2 separate regions of the Homo sapiens genome follow, and region 1 is linked to region 2. The links are contacts of gene promoters, found by promoter capture Hi-C in blood cells and fetal thymus (Javierre and others, 2016). All regions are on one chromosome and are shown on one strand. The core of a region is centred on a gene start or on the middle of the fragment in contact, and the rest is flanking DNA. Distances in the headings are between cores, read along the strand shown.

Evidence for each region. The method cuts DNA at HindIII sites, captures the fragments that hold promoters and counts their contacts. A CHiCAGO score of 5 or more calls a contact.
Region 1: a contact is called between a fragment that was not itself captured here and the fragment with the promoter of DNAJC13 in region 2, in 1 of 17 cell types (fetal thymus). The highest score is 6.2, in fetal thymus.

What each region holds. Positions count from the first base shown.
Region 1 is chr3:134,477,527-134,483,936 of GRCh38, forward strand. It overlaps ANAPC13 (anaphase promoting complex subunit 13), which reads right to left. Exons shown (of 3, transcript NM_015391.4): 2 at 5,280-5,405; 3 at 180-1,189. The coding sequence starts at 5,378. The coding sequence ends at 1,064. Among named protein-coding and RNA genes, the nearest start is that of ANAPC13, 5.3 kb to the right of the region's middle. The HindIII fragment of the contact is 1,099 bases long and covers 3,344-4,442 here.
Region 2 is chr3:132,415,392-132,421,791 of GRCh38, forward strand. It overlaps DNAJC13 (DnaJ heat shock protein family (Hsp40) member C13), which reads left to right and starts at 2,111. Exons shown (of 56, transcript NM_015268.4): 1 at 2,111-2,369. RefSeq lists silencers at 1,801-1,900, 2,181-2,320 and enhancers at 2,351-2,500, 2,440-2,975. The HindIII fragment of the contact is 2,245 bases long and covers 1,728-3,972 here.

The DNA of each region.
Region 1 (6,410 bases), core at 2,643-5,142, 2.1 Mb after region 2:
AAGATAAAAGATTTCTAGGCAGAACTACTGATGCAAAGAGAAGAAATCAGCCTGGATGTATCTGGATTATAGGATAGCTGCTAAAATCATGTTTGTGATTGAAAACCTAAAATAAGCTAATTTGTTTTTTCATGTACCTCTTCCTCCTAAAAGCTAAGTAAACAAAAAGACCCAGCATAAAAAGGATGAGAAGAGATTTTAGTTATTCAGTGTTTTCAGAGTTTCAACAAGGGATACAGATACAAGCAGCTTCTTACAGAGTTTACAATCTGGGGAGAGAACATGAAAGACACTGTTTAACAGGCAAATAATTCCAGGAATAAATATACATGAATGTGTTTTTCAAAATACAGGTTCTTATACAAATGTATAACTAAATACTGATTCCATAGTGGGGTGGTTGTAACTGAAAGGGCTTTGAGAAAAGGCTTTGAATAAAACTAGTCATCCACCTAGCCAAAGATCCTTTCCAGCAGCACAAAAGGAATTTGTAAGGAGAACAGAGATTAACTGTCAGATATCTTTCTAATCTGTAAATTTATCCAAAGTTTGAAAATACCATGAAGAATCTTAGGAATGCCAGTAACCAGGGAATGGGATATTTGCATATCACAACATCTACAGGCTAAATACACTCCGAATGCTTCTCAATGTGGGGAAGTATGAGAAGTTAATAATTCTCCTAGTGTCTGGCTTCCTTTTTCTTTGCCTTTCCCTCTCATACGTTCAATCACCTGTGTTACAGGACACACATAAGTAGTTGGAAGGTGTTAAACTTTGACAGCAAAGCAAAATCAGAGGTAGAGGCAAATGTTTAACCAATCATGTTCAAATATAAGCTACTCAATGAAGAGTTTTAGGTTTAAAGAGCGAAATATTCACCATTACTGAGAAATCTCAGTTTCTCATTCAATTTCGCATTGCACTTTGCTACCACAAACTAAATGGGTGTACATTTTTGAGTGCTGATTTATTACTCAAAGGTTTGAATTTGGAGACTGAAACAAACCATGCTTTATCTGTGTACTTTGAGAAAATCCATCCACAAGAAAGGAGCCAAGCGTCAGTTTCCAATGGGGGGAACATTCTCATGGAGGTACTGTAAGGCTAAGTCTGTCCACTTCATTTCTTGTTCTTTGACAGATTCTGTGGTGCCACCATTGTCTTGTTCAGGTTCAGGAAGCTCATTCTGAAAAGGTACAATAGAAATTCAGAACAGTAATATATTCTGCATCTTCTTGGAACTCAAGAACACTTAGAATTAAAGCTTGTGAGTTCCTAGGAACAGGCAACATAATTGATATGTGTATTCTAAAAAAGCTAAAATCATACACGTGAGGAAACTATCAGAAGTATCATTCAAACATGGCCCGGGCCTTCTTCAGTAGGGAATGATGGGCATTTTGACTCTGACATTTGTGAAGGAGGCACTGTGGCAGAAAGGTTAAGGGCAGAGGCTTTTGGAAGCCAACTAGGATCCAAGACCACAACTCTCCCATTTGCTGGGTTACTTGGGCAAGGTATGCAAACCCTTGGGGCCTTTGTTTCTTCCTTGGCAAATGGGAGAACAAAAGAGCCATCACCTCACAGGACTACTGTAAGGATTAGGTGAGGTAATTCAGATCAAGTGCTGAGCACTCTGTGGGGTATCCAGTGCTCAAGGAATATTTGCTATTATTATTAGCGGCTAGGAACACTGAGATGAGTGAATCCTAAATCTTCTTTAGCGGGAGCGTGCTTTAAAAGAATACTAGTTTGCTGGCATATTCCTTAGACACAAGAAATGTATCCAAAAAATTATCTTGGACCCAACATGTCTTTTTTTTTTGAGATGGAGTTTTGCTTTTGTTGCCCAGGTTAGAGAGCAATGGCGTGATCTCGGCTCACCACAACCTCTGCCTCCCGGGTTCAAGCGATTCTCCCGCCTCAGCCTCCCGAGTAGCTGGGATTACAGGCATGCACCACCATGCCCGGCTAATTTTGTATTTTTTTATTTTTTTTTAGTAGAGATGGGGTTTCTCTATGTTGGTCAGGCTGGTCTCGAACTCCCAACCTCAGGTGATCCACCCGCCTCAGCCTCCCAAAGTGCTGGGATTACAGGCGCGAGCCACCGCGCCTGGCCCAACATGTCTATATTATAATAAAAATGGAGGTAGGGCAGGAAACACTGAAAATGTAATTAATAGATAAGACCTCCCTCTAGTGGTGGAGCAGAGCAACAAAAAACACAACAAATGACCAATTCACACCCTACCAGCAATTTTCTTAAAATGGTAAGTCATGGGCCACACTTACTGTAGGATCTGGGATCATTTACTTGTATTTTAAGTTTAAATGTATTACTACTGAAACTCTGCTTTGTACCAGAGTTCACAGATACCAATATATTTCTTTTCAATTATCTGTGTTTTGTTTTATGGTTAGCAAACTGTTATGCGATATCCAGACTTAAAATTTTCCACTGGATTCTAATTTGTAGTATGTGAATATGTTTTCCCCTCTAAAATTATGCTCAATATATATTAAATGATATTTACTTATCTATATTTGAATCACATACATCTTGTTCTACAAGACAGATTCAAACATACTTGAACAGATTGAGAAGAGCTATCATTTATTGTAACGCAATAATATATTATCTTAAACTTAAAAAGAAAGTTCAGTCCTAATAATTACTTATAGATGACAAAGAATAAATAGGTCCTTGGTTAATGAATTCTTTAATTCAGAAGCAGACAACGTTGCTTAATTTCATCCTATCTGTGGTATGCTTTCTAAAATAATGTGTCTTTCATTTGGTATCTACTGTCCCTTGCAATACATGCCAACACATAAAATGGCATATATGCCTGGAAAACAAAAACAAAAGTATCATAAACCCAGCCACCCATTATGGTGTACTGTAAAATGCCCTTAGTTCTTTGCAGCTACTCTTATCAAAAGGTGAAACTGATTTCCCCAATCTTGGATTTGGACTGGCCCTGTGAGTTGTTTTGGCCAACAGAATGAAGCTGTCATGCCAGTGGGCCAGTTCTTGGCCTAAGCTCCAAGAAGCTCTGCCGTTTCCTCTCAGGTTGCTCTTGGAACCCTGAGATTGAGAAGTCTGGGCTAGCCTGCTGGATACCAGAGACCATGGCATAGTCACCCCATCACCCAGCAGACAGCTTGTTAACTGCCAGACATGTGAGACAGTCCTAGATTACCCAGCCTCCAGAGTCTGTTGGCTGACTGCACAACACAGGCAAGCCTGGCAGGGATCAGCTGAGCTGGTGCAGACTAGAAGTCCCTCCCAGCTGAGCTACAAAATCATGAAATAAACAGTTGCTCTTTTAAGTCACTAAGCTTTGGGGTGACTTGTTATGCAGCAAAACCTAACTGGCATACACATTGCCTTAGAATCGCAAGACAAGCGAAAGGTGTGGATTAGCAGCAGGGCCAAGCCAACTTCGCCTGGAAGTCAGCAGGGAAACCTCCTTCCACCCCTGCCACCCAAATGTTCTCCAATCTGAGCCATAAACTTCTCCAGAAATGGACGTCTCCTTTATTTTCTTGACTTTGTTTAGGCCCTCCTCCCTTGCCTAGACCACAACAGCTTGCCAATTGGTCTCACTTGCCCCTATCTCCATGTCACACCATCTCTAACAATGCTGGCTAAACTGATTTTCCAAAAGCCAAATCTGAGCATAGCAGTCTTGCTTTTAAGACCATTCATTCCTGGATCTCCTGAGGATGAGGTCTAAGTGTGATATCAAATACCACTCTCAATCTGATCCAAGCCCAACTTTTCAGCCTACTTATGTGACAAATGTATTCTTCATCCACAGTGAATGACTCACCATGTCCCAAAGCCTTTCAAAACTCTGGGCCTTTACACATCTGTCCCCTCTGCTGCAATACCCTTGTCTACCTCCACTAAACTTCTGGTCCTTCCTTATGACCCAGCTTAAACATGACATTCTCTCAGAAGCCTTTCTGATGCCCACCAGGCAATCAGCCACTTCGTATATGATGTGGCTGTTTATGCCCCCACCTAGAATATTTATTATCACAATTACTTATCTATAAGTGTTGCCTTTCTAGACCCCTCAGGAGGAGGAACTGTATCTTATGTTCACATAGTCTTATGGCACACAGTAGGCTTCAAAAAATGCTTGTCAAATGAATGAATGAACAGAAGTTCACAAGACAGGATTTGGAACTTCACAGACCTAGGTATATGTTATATGAAGCCCTACTTACCTGCTACCAGACTTTGGGCAAGTTGCCCTTTCTGATCCTATTCTTTTCCTATAAAATGGGAATAACAGCACCTCCCTCACAGGGTTGTTTAAGAATTAGAGATAATGTATATTTCCAACCTCAGTCCATGGCATAAAACTGGTATTCAATAAATGACATCTATAATTCTTATTATGCTCTCTCTTTTGACTATTTTCCTAAGCTTGAACTAAGCTATGACTTATTTGATATGTATATTATTCATTGAACATATTACTATCTCTTATTCGTAAATGAAAATACAGATGAACTATTTTATTTCTTTGCAAACAGCAACAGCAGATATTCTAACTATAAATTATATTTTATTCAATACTAACTACTCTTCTCAGGGCAGCTGGCATGCTTTAAAGAAAAACAGTCCTGTTTTCCCTTTTTTAGGCCTCTATGACATAAATAGGATTTTAAACAAACATTTATATAAGCAAAACTTTTGGATCACTTATTACATGAGGTTTAACAAACTCCCTGCAGCAGAGTTTTCCAAAGATGGGGAAGAAAAGAGTATTCCAGAAGGCCACTGGCCTAAACGCAAAAGAATACCCAGGTATCTTCTGAATATTTTCCAGGGAACCTAAGATAGGTGTATGCTCCAAGAATGTAAGTTTCTAAAAATGCTGAAAGACTGATGAGCCACAGGCAGGGAAGTAAGAAACAGAGCTCATATGCTGCTGCTTCTTGTTCTTCCCCATCTTGCGCATTAAACTCTCATTATTTGGTTTCTCTGGTTTTCGTGTGGTGGACAGAACATGGCTCAGAAAATCGGGGCTCTAGTCCTGGCATGACTCCTAACTGACCTGGCCATGTTAGCTCCCTGAACCACATTTTTCTTCAAATAAAACATACAACTGGATGCTCTCCAGAAGCTTCTAGAGTTAGAGAATTCCACAGCTTTGATTTCTTTGCCACACTAGTTTATCTTCCATTGATATCCCTCCTCCACTAGTTACTGCCAGATCAATACCTTTAACCCATCCTCAGCTCAAATCATAACCTACCAGTGGTATTGCGACATCCTCATAAGGCAGCTTGTCTTCTCGCCAAGCATCATCAATCAAATCCAAGATCCTTCCATCTCTCTGAACCTCACTGTCCATTTTCCTGCAGCTTTGATCTTGTCAAATCTGTAAGCCAAAGAGGTTATTTCTTAAACACGAAGACTGAAGAGATGGTATAATCCACTATTAGGATTCTCCAGGCTTTTTAGTCTGGGGCCACCTTTTGGGAAAAGGTTCATTTTCTCATATGGGCCGGGTGACTACTTTGATCACAGTTCCTCTCTCCAACCCCAACTGATACATATTTTATAGTGTATACTGGACAGGCATAGCCCAGCTGACAGACCAGTGTCATAGAGTGTGACAGGAGAGCAACACGTTAAACGAGGCCCTCAAATATTAATATGTTGCATCTCAATGTAGCTCTTCTCTTCTAACTTGAACATTCACCTTTTCCTGTTTGTGATGCCTTTGATGAGTCCCTGATTCATAATGGCCAGCTAAGTTTCCTTTCTAGCCCCTGGCTCAAACCTCAGCATTCTTAGGCACAGGAGTCACACGAACATACTGTAAAGGAAACGGCTTCCTTCCCTAAAATAGTACCCAGGCTGAGATCTGAATAAAGCACTTCTAGGTGAACACCAGTGGTAGAACCTCATACTGCTAAAGTTTCTCCAGTTTCTGCTTCCCTTTGGGGTAGCTCCTTCCTCGGAGGTTCCTTCCTCTAATTCTTAACGCTACACTCCCTTCAATTTCTGGCCCAAATGGTCACGATGCTTATTTAGCTCCTTGACCATGGCTGATTCCCCATTTTTCTCTGAAACTGCTATAATCTAATCCAAAAGGCTGGCTAGCTTGTAGGATACTTCTGGATTTCCCTGTTTCCAAGGTTGGGCCCTGACTCATCATAGGCATCATCCTATGGGTGCTCCCTGCTACCAAGTGACAATCCAAAAAGCCCGGAAGCCACTGGCATCAAAGGTACTCTCAGTTTCTGAGACTATGGAGACTCACACAATAAGCAATTTTGGGGTGGTGGAGCGGGGTGGAACCCACCATCTGGAGGTGCTTTTTTCAGAGCTCAGCCTGGGTGATATTTTAAGGAAGGAAGCCATTTCCTTTACAAGCTCA
Region 2 (6,400 bases), core at 861-3,360:
GGCATTTTAAGAAGGATCCAATTGTATGGATCCAATTAAAAGCAACCAGTGGTTGTGAAAAGGCTTGAAACTACATCTTGTGAACAATGGTTGAAAGTACTTTGAATATGGTTTCTTAAAATGAGTATCTGTAGCAGGGGTAGTTAGAAGGATATGCACGGGAGAGGGAGTGGGAAAGGGTGATAAGCTGTACTGATAAGTGCTTAAATGAATGTCACATACAAGAAGAAAAGAGCAAGAAACAAAGACAAAATAACTACTCATAGAAGAGAGTGCAAGTTGGCTGAATACAAGGAAAATGGCTTATAAAAATGCAATGGAAAAAGATGTCTTGTGAGGCAATTTTGCACTACAGAGGATGGGGACAATTCATGATGCCTAAGGCTCCTCTCAACACGAGAATTGATTTTATTGGTCTCAAATATTGAACAGAGAGGCAGTGTGGAGGTTGAACAGTTCACTGGCCTTGATGTTACAGGCAGGCCCTGTGTCTTAATCTTGGCTCAACCTTTAGGAGTTAGGTCACCTTTAGCAAGTCTCCTGGACTCTCTGGGTCTGCTGCTTCTCTAAAATCGAAATAATATACCCCACATTTACTTTTGGGATTACTGGAAGGCTTTGTAACCACATAAACACGTTTCTGTTTCCATGGGATAAGCCAATAAGGCCCCTTAACACAGCCCTCCTGTTTCTTTTTCCTCCTCCTCCCTTCCTACTCTATTTCGGGTTCTGTCTTCCCACACCCAGCTATTCCTAGTACCTTCCCTTACATGCACCTTATCTTACTGCTGCATTACAGAAAAGTCTAAGGATAAACACAAATAGTCTTTTTCCGCCCTAAGGTAGGGCAAAGGGTTAATAGAATCAAGAGGTAAAGTCTGTAAAAACCATTTTTCCACATTTTTTCATCCTGCAATCGCTGTCTATAAAATGAGCCAACTTGCTGAAGGGGACGCCAAGAAATCACAATTTCAGGACTGCCATGAAGAATGAGTATTCAACTCCTTATCAGAGACCTTTAACCCTTATACAATAATGTATCCATGCAGGTCACCCTACACTGCCTCTACTCTGAAGTCTGCAGCAGAATCACTATTTTTTTTTTAATCACTAATTTTTAAACTGTGGTCTTTACGGCTCAGATCTGGGAGTGGACATTGACCTTTCTTATTTAAACCATTGCCCACAGATAACACATAATTTCTAGCCGAATCCTTTAGTCCCAATATCCCCTCTTTTCACTGCCCTGACTTCCCTCTCAGGTGAGGTTCAGGAAGATGGTTATCTAGAGGGCACAGGTTCTGGGTTCAAATTACTTGGGTGCAAACATGAAATCCACTACTCTGAGGCTGGGCCTCAACTTATCTGCAAAACGAGGATGATTCGTATCTCAGAGAGTTGAAGATTAAGCAGCTTTAAGTAAACTTCTAAACACTTGATCCGGACACAATAAATGGGGCTACCAGAACTATCTTTCCAGCATTCCCACCTGCAAATGCCTTAGGCGTCTCTGAGAATTTGGTCTCTGAGACCTTCCAGAGCATCCATAACTTAAACCCTGCTCTGCTGTCGTTCAGGACGTCTCAATAGTAAATGAACCTGCTGGCTCCCAATCCAGCCAAACCAGGAGATAGGCTGAGGCTTCAGACTGCCTCGCAGATGCTCCATGGCACTTGACGGCAAGAGCTAAAAAGAGGTGATTTAAAACAAGATTTCCTCGGACTTAAAGCTTAAGTACCGGGTTGCGACCCTACTCTCCGCAGGACATAAGCGGAGGGGCGCGGCCCTAAGGCACACGCCGGAGGGGCGTGGTCATGGGCACCCGCCGGAGGGGCGTGGTCATGGGCACCCGCGCGCGCCCAGGGGCGTGTCCTTTTCAGCACCCACCGAGGCGCCAGCCCCCTGACGCGCTGCGTGGAATCCAAATCCCACGGCCGGTGTCGTTACTCTGCGCATGTGTAGCTGCTGGGGGCTGGCCGGAGGAAAGCAGAATTTCAGGGAAAGAACGATCGGGACGGGGAGGACGGGGAGGGCGGGGCAGAAGACGGAAGAGTTGAAATCAGCTGACTGGGTCTCGTGACAGCCTGGGCGGTGGCGACGCAGGCGTATTAGAGCGCGCTCGCTCAAAGCCTGAGCGAAGATGGCGGCCTCCAGAGTGAAACTCTGAGAGGCAGAGGGAGGAGGCGGAGGGGGCGGGGAGGCAGCGCCGCGGCGGCACCAGGAACCCGCGGCAGCGGAGCTGCAGGGCCCCGGCGGGGGAAAGGGGAAGTGGTGAGGGTGAGGAGGCCGGAGGGCGCCTCATCCCACTCTGGAAGCTGAGCCGGCGGCGGGAGGAGCTAGGGCTGGAGCCTCTCCAGCCTCCCGCGAAGGTAAAGCCGACTCCGGGCACTGGGCTCTGGGGCTCTGCCTTACTCCCTTCCCACGCCGTGGGGACTTTGTGGGGCTCAGGGCAGGGAAAACGGGGTGGTCTTGGCTGCTGCAGCCTGCAGCTGCTAAGGAAGCAGATTACCCTTCCCCCAGGCTGCTGGTCTGGTTCCTTTCGTTGGACGCCCCCCCGGCTTTGAGTGACATTAGCTCAGGGCGCTGCCCTGTCCAGCCCCACCCCTTTTTTTTGCTTGTTTTATACCTAGTACGCTCCTCCACTCGCCTTAACATATCCTTACCCCACAGGCTCTTCATTCCCTTGTGGGTTCCGCCCTCGGGATTCCCTTCCAGTCTCCTAGTCTGAGCACCCTTCCTGCTGGATGCCGGCAACTCTTGTTTCCTTGGGTCAGCGACCCTCCTTCCGAACAAGTCCTGCAGACTGACTTTCTTTGCTTTGTTTCGTTTTGTTAGGAAATGAGCATCCGCGTCGTCTGTTCTCCAGTACTTTTTCTAAAATCATTTTCTCCCCTAAGGCTTTTCCTTCCTGCAAGGCAGCTTATTCACGTGGCCTTTCCTCCGCTGCTGTGATTTTATCTTTGAATGTGGCCTTTGGAGTGGGTAAAGTAGGACTTAGACGCTCAGTGAAGTGGCTGTTAATCACTTGATACTTAACTATGTTTAAGAGTGCCTTCCCTTAAATTTTCTCCTTTTGTAGCGTGTTCCGTTAACCACGTTTGTCTTAAGATTGTTTCCTGTGTCCGTTGCTTAGAGGGGGGAAAAAAGTAAAGATTTCACCCTAATGTGGCGGTGGTCTCCCAAAGTAATTATTTCTCATTTTCCCTCTGCTTTTCCCTTTTACGTTATTCTGATTTCCCTCAAAAAGGAGGTTCTGTACCTGATGCTGTTGCGTCCTCTATGAAGGGCTTTATAGTGTACAGTTATGTTGAGCCTTTTGTAATACAGTGTCTTGGGGAAAAAAGTAGAAGTTCAGAACCTGCCCCCAGTAATTCTTTCTTACTATATTTTCTTTCTCAGTTTATGGACTTGATAGGTTTCTAGGTTTGAAACTACTGCCTGCAGGGAAAATTACAGTGATAAGGTTTTATAATATATTACCAGTACTTTGAGTTTATGGGAGTATGAAACAGAATTTGCCTTAAAAAAATAAATTTATAGAAACCACTTGTCAGAAATTCGGTATCCAGAACACAGTTCTTTGATTTTTGGAAAGTACTTTATTGGCTTATCTATCATATAACGTAAAACCTTGTTCACATTTTGTGTAATGTGAAACGCTTTTTAAGCTACTATATCTCAGACTTGGCTTGTGCTGTTAGTATCACAATGCATTCAGGCAACACACGTCCTTGTGTAGAAATTATTACATTATACTCCTTGTTTGAAAACAGGAAGTAGAACATATTAAGGGAGGAAAAGAGGAGTCAGAGGATTATTAAGAAATAAGAATGTAAAGAACCTTAAGGCTAGAGTTCAGTTCATGGAAAATATCAGCATTTGTATTCCACTGAGAGGCAATGAATATTCCTCTTTTTCTAAAGTGGTAGTAATAAATAGTCTAAAATATATTAATGTTATATATTGTTAACAAGCTTAGTTGTAAACAAAATACTTAAGCTAAAAAATAAAATATTAATAAGTGAATGAATTGTTTGGAATAATTTAACTTTATCCACAAATAAATAGAAGATGGTTGCCTTGCCCAGGTGGACTGTAACAATACTGGCTTTATTAAATTTGTTAAAAGGTTGATAGTGGAGTCCGGTTCTCAATAGGTCCCAAATTAGGGTTGAAATTGAAAAGATGTGTTTTAACTAATTTGGCTTCATTCCTCAACCAGTTCTGTTTACACAGGTGAATATGAGGTTTCTGCTACACATACCTTTCCCCTGCTTCTGATTGAGGTACTTTAAATTAGTAATTGAAACAAGGCTGTGCAGATAAACTGCAGCACAAATTTGGTTGCTACAAATAGGTTTTGGCCTAAATGTTCACTGTAAAACATGGCAGTAGTTAAAGGGGAGTTATTAATATTTTGAAAGAGTTCCTTGAGTCAGTGTTTCTCAACTTTATTAGACCCAATAAAGGCTCCCTTTTTATAAAAAATAATTAGTAACACCTTCTTTGCTATCTTTAGTTTATAAATAATGTAACTACCTCTGGCTTTGGCCCTGAGACAAAAAAAGAAGCTTTGCTCTCACTTCTGCAACAAAAAAAGACCTACACTACAAATTCATGACTTTTTTGAAATCTATTAAAGAGCTGAGTCCACAGAGCAAAACCACTGGCTGAAAATTTGAGAGACAGTGCTTACAGAGAGTAGATGTCAATTTCTGTTTACCGTCTTCAGACACAACTGGACAAAAAGCATGATGAAAGCTGAATGCACAATCTTGCAAACTCTTATCCACAAACCTCCCTGGGTCTACTAGAAAAGACTGGAAAGAACCCTGGGTGAGTCTGCTGTGCAGATTGAGAGGGAGAGGAACAGCAACAGAACTTTTAAGAGGGTCAAGAAACTGCTGTGATTCTTCCCCTCTGCCTCTTCTATGGAAAAAAGCTTTAATCTCTGGGGAGAAGGGTATCTCTGTTGGCCCCATTGGTGAACATTCAGGGGGTAGATGAGAAGTGGGAGAGAATCTTATGCCTGGAGGAGGGGCCCTGAGCCCAAAACTGCAGTCGGGAGTGGTCAACAGAACCGAGAGTGCTGCCCTCCTGAGATTCAGGAACACAGTGTTTGACTTAGACTTAATCAGAACATCAGACTGTATCCCCCACCCCCAACCCCCTGCCACCAAGCTAAGAAGCTTTCAGTAACAAGTAACCCACAAAATACTACTAGGAAAGGAACAAGATTATGCAAAGAGGCACAACACAAAGAATCAAACAGGCATTGCTCTAGTAAACCATCGCCCACCAGAGAGACAAACTGTTCTGCAGATTCATGAAGGCTGTAATACACTGAGGATAACTATGGCAAAAACAAATCATAAACTAAGTCCAACTCCTAACCAGATTAACACAAACCCTTCACCAAAGGCCTCACAAAGAACAGGCGTGCTCATTTCCAGTCATAAAAATTACCTCAATCTCTACTCCTACACAACATGTCCAGCTTTTAACCAAAAATTATGAGGCCCATGAAAAAAACTCCCAAGAGAAAGAGCAGTCATCATTATACATTTTTTAAAAAGATAGGAGCTTAAAAAGAACTGTTTTGTACATGTTAAATACTATAATAATGACATTTTGCCTTGAAAAAGTTTGAGCAAACAATGCAGTGAGCATTGGATGGAGTTATAGTTTCTGAATTACTGTGAAGTAGTAGAAGGAAAAAAAGTTATAAGATGGAGTGGAAAATTAGTAACATATATGTGAATGTATGTGGTTCATTGACCACCTGAAGTGTGTGTGTGTATTTTGTGAATTCCTGCATGACTCAGTTGGGTACAATTTTCTGCGTTCACTTAGTGTTGGGACAGAATCACTATAAGCAAATGTGACATTTTCATTATGCTCAAATTGTTCAGTAATACACCAATCCTGTTAAAATTCACATGATCAAGAAAGCATTATAGCAGAATTGACTATATGCATTTCAATATGTAAATAGTTAAGTATGATTATACCAAAATACACAAAGGACGTGTCAGAGGCTTGTATCTTTACATGGAATCATTTTGAGATTTTTTTTGTGTGTGTGAGAGACAATCTTGCTCTGTCACCCAGGCTGGAGTGCAGTGGCACGATCTTGGCTCACTGCAACCTCTGCCTCAGCCTCCTGAGTAGCTGGGACTACAGGCGCTTGCCACCATGCTGGGCTGATTTTTTTTTTTTTCTGTATTTTTAGGAGACAGAGTTTCACCATGTTGCCCAGGCTGGTCTCGAACTCCTGACCTCAAGTGATCCACCCACCCAGGCCTCCCAAAGTGCTGGGATTACAGGTGTGAGCCACCATGCCTGGCCCATTTTGATTTTTGACAGAAATGTTGATGTCTACAGATTTGTCACATTGGTG